2 separate regions of the Homo sapiens genome follow, and region 2 is linked to region 1. The links are contacts of gene promoters, found by promoter capture Hi-C in human tissues and cell types (Jung and others, 2019). All regions are on one chromosome and are shown on one strand. The core of a region is centred on a gene start or on the middle of the fragment in contact, and the rest is flanking DNA. Distances in the headings are between cores, read along the strand shown. Region 1 holds the start of BIRC5 (baculoviral IAP repeat containing 5). Region 2 overlaps TNRC6C (trinucleotide repeat containing adaptor 6C).

What was found. The method cuts DNA at HindIII sites, captures the fragments that hold promoters and counts their contacts. A contact is called where the count stands out against the background at its distance.
Region 2: a fragment that was not itself captured here is called in contact with the fragment with the promoter of BIRC5 in region 1 in 3 of the 25 tissues and cell types used here (bladder, lymphoblastoid cells and spleen).

Annotation. Positions count from the first base shown.
Region 1 is chr17:78,212,995-78,215,694 of GRCh38, reverse strand. BIRC5 (baculoviral IAP repeat containing 5) reads right to left here and starts at 1,442. Exons shown (of 4, transcript NM_001168.3): 1 at 1,268-1,442; 2 at 906-1,015. The coding sequence starts at 1,378. RefSeq lists an enhancer at 796-1,697. The HindIII fragment of the contact is 20,243 bases long and covers 1-2,700 here.
Region 2 is chr17:78,089,092-78,091,791 of GRCh38, reverse strand. TNRC6C (trinucleotide repeat containing adaptor 6C) reads right to left here. Exons shown (of 23, transcript NM_001142640.2): 16 at 185-352. Among named protein-coding and RNA genes, the nearest start is that of TMC6, 38 kb to the left of the region's middle. The HindIII fragment of the contact is 5,688 bases long and covers 1-2,700 here.

The DNA.
Region 1 (2,700 bases), core at 193-2,692:
ATAGCAAACATACTAAGAAAAAAAACAGCTACTCTCTTCTGGCCAAAAAGAAAAACAACTGGGGTGATTCTCCAGGGGAAAAAAATTAAAGCTGTGGAAGCAACTGAATCCGACAGAAAAAAAGGTGAGAAAAGAATATGGCATTACAGTGTGGAAAGACAGATACCATCCGAGTACAGAATTTCATTGTCATTAACTAGGCATCTTGAAGAAAAAAATCCAGAACAACACTGAAGTATATGCTTTCTTTCTTTTTTTTTTTTCAATTTTTTATTTTTATGACGGAGTCTCGCTCTGTCGCCGAGGCTGGAGTGCATTGGCACAATCTCGGCTCACTGCAACCTCCGCCTCCCAGGTTCAAGCGATTCTCCTGCCTTAGCCTCCCGAGTAGCTGGGATTACGGGCGTGCGCTACCATGCCCGGCTAATTTTTGTATTTTTAGTAGAGACGGGGTTTCGCCAAGTTGGCCAGGCAGGTCTTGAACTCCTGACCTCAGGTGATCCGCCCGCCTCAGCCTCCGAAAGTGTGAAGTGCACACTTTCAAAGGGTAATTTTTGTGCTGTGTAGGTTATATTTCAATTAAACTGTTTTTTAAAAAATCTCAAAAAAAGCACTTGGACGTTCCTGGGAGTTCACAACAACAGGGTCTGCTGATGTATTCTGTTGAACATGAAAGGCATCAGGCATCTTACGTCCACCCCAAGGCATTTTGGTCAAATGAGATTTAATTAGGTTGTAAGCATCACCAAGGCACCAGCATATAGAGAGGTATCCGTTCACAACAGCTGTTTAAGAAGCAATGAGGGTGGAAAGCAACCCTCCCATACTAAGTGTCTTTGCAACTCAAATCTTTTGACAACTCAGTTCAAAACAAAGCCCATCGAGGCTGGCCAGAGAAGACTTACATGGGGTCGTCATCTGGCTCCCAGCCTTCCAGCTCCTTGAAGCAGAAGAAACACTGGGCCAAGTCTGGCTCGTTCTCAGTGGGGCAGTGGATGAAGCCAGCCTCGGCCATCTGCAAGGGACAGCACAGCTCGTGAGTGGACGTGGCAGCCCGGAACCCCGAGGCCCAGCCACAAAGGCCTCGATGGGGACAAAGCAGGGAGGGGAGGCCGGCCTGGACCCAAGGGGCCCAGCCACAGTGGCCTCGCTGGGGACAGGACGGGGAGGGGAGGGCGGCTTGTACCCCCGAGGCCCAGTCACAGTGGCCTCGCTAGGGACAGGGCAAGGCGGGCGTGGGGGACCCCAGGAGGCCGGGCAGTCTCACCCGCTCCGGGGTGCAGGCGCAGCCCTCCAAGAAGGGCCAGTTCTTGAATGTAGAGATGCGGTGGTCCTTGAGAAAGGGCTGCCAGGCAGGGGGCAACGTCGGGGCACCCATGCCGCCGCCGCCACCTCTGCCAACGGGTCCCGCGATTCAAATCTGGCGGTTAATGGCGCGCCGCGGGGCATGTCGGGAGCGCACGCCCTCTTAGGCGGTCCACCCCCCGCGGCCTTCTGGGAGTAGAGGCGGGGCGGCGCGGGGTGTGCCGGGAGTTGTAGTCCTCCCGCCGCGTGGCTCTGCCCGTGGTCGCGGTGCACCCAGCGACGCCGCGCCAGCTCGTCCCTGCCCACACCTAGCGCCCCCTCGACTGCTTTCAAAGAACGCGTGCAGGCCGGGTGCAGTGGCTCACGCCTGTAATCCCAACACTTTGAGAGGCCTAGGCAGGAGCATCACTTGAGTCCTGGAGTTCAAGACCAGCCTGGCCATCACGGTGAAACCTTGTCTCTACTAAAAATACAAAAATTAGCTGGGCGTGGTGGTGCATGCCTGTAATCCCAACTACTCGGGAGGCTGAGGCAGGAGAATCGCTTGAACCCGGGAGGCAGAGGGTGCAGTGAGCTGAGATTGTGCCATTGCACTCCAGCCTAGGCAACAAGAGCAAAACTCAGTCTAAAAAAAAAAAAAAAGTCAGACAGGAGAGCTTTACAGGGTGCCACCTCTGCAAAAAGCATCTACTCCAGACGGGCATGAAGGACAAATGAACAGGGGAGGGATGGAGTGCAGCAGACATCGCTGTCCCGGCGAGTACATCGTTGACTGCACGACCTGGGTTTCCAGGAGGGCCACCTTCTGGAGTCAGGGGCCAGGGACTGGGCCACTACCGTGATAAGAAGACAAGGGAGCTGGGGAAAGCCCAGTGGAGGGTGGGGGCCTGTGCTCAGGGCAAACTCCTCCTTTCCCTTCGCAAAGCAGGGCGTCCCACCAACAGTAAGTCCTGCAGCCTATTAAAAAAAAAATCAGTGTGTCCTCTGCTTTGGAACAGGGTGTTCTGGAGTCACTTCTGGAGCTGGGCATCACATCCACTCACTTCTCTGGTTCTATGGCCAGAGATAAGAGGCCTGGCCTTATTAGCCCTCCAGCCCCACGCAGGCCTGGTGCCTCCACTGTCTTTTTCATTTTGGGGTTTATTTATTTATTTATTTATTTTTGCAACCTCTCCCCACCCCTCCCACCCCGCCCCCATTCTTTAATACAGTAACTTTTTATTTTGATGTTTATTTATTTATTTGAAACTGAGTCTCGCTCTATCGCCCAGGCTGGAGTGCAGTGGCATGATCTCAGCTCACTGCAACCTCCTCCCCGCCACGGGTTCAAGCGATTCTCCTGCCTCAGCCTCCCGAGTAGCTGAGATTAAAGGCATGCACCACCACACCAGGCTA
Region 2 (2,700 bases), core at 21-2,520, 120 kb after region 1:
GTTTTAAGAAGTTTGATCAGTGACTAGCTGAGATCTTATATGCACTATAATGGAATGGGTTATTTTAAATCCAACTTTCAGTGCTCAATTCTTAGAAAAGTATAGAATGGCCATGCTATACAACAGGACGATCGATTAATAAGCCAGCAGTGATCCCACCACAGGCATCCTAGCTCAGACGTACCATGCTTGCTAGGGTTCTGCTCCAGGGGGGAAGCGGCACTGGGCAAGTTATCCATGGAGTTGGGGTGCGTCCACTGGGGGAGGCGTGACTGGGACTGGGATGGGTCCTTCACCGACAAGCCACCGGTCATGTCCATGCTGTTGACATTCATGTTTGGGTTCAGTCCAGCTAAAGAGAGAGATGCGGTTAGGATTCGCCTGCTCCTCTAAATGACTTCATTCTAAAGCTCTCCTATAGAAGCTATTTCAGTCTTCGCTTACAGCAAATTTTTTTTTTTTTTTGAGACGGAGTCTTGCTCTTGATGCCCAGGCTGGAGTGCAATGGCACAATCTTGGCTCATTGCAACCTCCGCCTCCCAGGTTCAAGCGATTCTCCTGCCTCAGCCTCCCAAGTAGCTGGGATACAGCAAAATATTTTAACTATAACTTTTAGTGCTGGTGAAAAAATACTACTTATCGTCATAACAACATGTATTTCTAGGAATATTATTCCTAAATTAAGGTGAAAATGTGAATAGTCTTTGATTAAGTAAGGCCCACAATTCTCTTCATTTTACTTGTTTCAGTGCTGAATAAACATGGTCCTGAGGCTTCTCAGAGTCCACAGGAAAATAGAAAAAGTCCAAACTATTAGGAAAATCTTTCTTTGTTTTGGGATATCTTACGGAAACTCATCAGGTCAAAAACACTTTTCCAGAACTCTAAAGTACCACCTATGAAACAGACTGATAGGATAATTCAGTTCTACCTTTAGTGAGTTTCCTTTACAAAAGTCTGCTCTGAAAGAGTCTGTGAATTAAGTATCAAACTACTTTTAAGGAACTGAACTATTTGACAGCGGGGGTGCTGCCATCTGCCCCCAGCTGGGATGGTGAGCTGAGGCTTCTGGGCTCATTCCTTATAGCTAAAAGCAGGTACCTGGTTATTTGTCCAGGACCTGCACTAAGCTAGGTTAATAAAGAAAGATGATGAGGAGGACAATGAAAAGAAGGTTGAAGTAAAGAGTTTCTGATGAGGACACTAGTTTGGAGCAGGACAGACTGCTTGTTTGGAAGGGAATAACCAGCACAAGCGCCCCCCTCCCCTTGTATTTCCAGCTGCAGTTCCCCTTACCACATACACATACCCCATAGGTCCTTACCGTAAGTACTACGCCACACGGTACGTAAGCACAGTGAGCCTCTACTACTTAGCCAGGTGCTGAACATTCTGGTTCTTACCTTTATTTCAGAGGCTGCAAATTCAAATGCCCATAGGAGCCAGGTGGGCCATGCACATGAAGAAGTGGGCTTCATGGGGACTGTGGCAAACCAGAGAGTGTCTGTCCTGTCTAAATAAACAGGTGCTACTGGGGCCAACCACCTATTGCTACCTGGAACATAGACCCACTATAGCCATTTTTAAGAGAAGCCAGAAGCCACTTTCCCCAATTTTTGAATGTTGGCATTAACACACACCTATGCACATGCACACACACACTTCGCAGACCTAACAAAACGCCTTTGCAAGCCCATCAGTGCCACAGGGCTGCCTACTTGCAATCTCTGCTGTGTGGGTTCTTTTCGTTTCAGCTTGTACAGATCTAGCCAGGTAAGGTGGCAACAATGTCAGGGCTTCAACCTGGCCTTCAGAATGCTCCAAATTTCACAATTTGGCGCCAACCCATCTCTCCCAACTTTCCCCTCTGGGAAAGTCAGCTAGACTGGCCTGGCCCTTGCAAAATGGGCCCCTGAAACAAGCCAGGCCTCTTTCTTCTGTGCTACGTGAGGCTTCCCCTTTATTTGGAAAGGCTTCCTCTTTATTTACTGTAATCCTATCCAATCATTTGAGGTTCAAGCTTAATCCTACTCTCTGATTTTTCTTTCACCACTCAAAGTGAAAGTGAACTTTTCCTTCTCTAGAGCCCTGTAAGAATCACATGACACTGGTATCAAGGTTATTTTTTCCCATTTATATGCCTGCTCTTCCTATCTAGATGGCGAACTCCAGGTGGCAAAAGACTGAGAATAACAACGACAGGCTGAACATGAGGGAAGGAAGGTAGCTAGGAGCCCCCACTACTGACCATGGGCTGCTGGTTTCTTTACATGAATTGATGAGTGTCTAACAGGCTCTTCAACATAGGTGCTGCTGCAGAGAAATGCTGAGAGCCAACAAGATAGGCAATTTTACAACCAAAGTTTCCTAGACTTTATTAGTTATTTGCTTTTAATACATTTATAACTTTACTGTGAATATTATAAAATATTATCCAAATTATTTTTCAACTAATTTCAAAGATTCACTGCATGAATTCTTTAACTTGTACTAAGAGAAAAAATCCTTAAGAGTAAAGATAAGTGGTCGGGCACGGTGGCTCACGCCTGTAATCCCAACACTTTGGGAGGCTTAGGTGAGCGGATCACTTGAGGTCAGGAGTTTGAGACCAGCCTGGCCAACATGGTGAAACCCAGTCTCTACTAAAAATACAAAAATTAGCCAGGCGTGGTGATGCATGCCTGTAATCCCATCAATTTG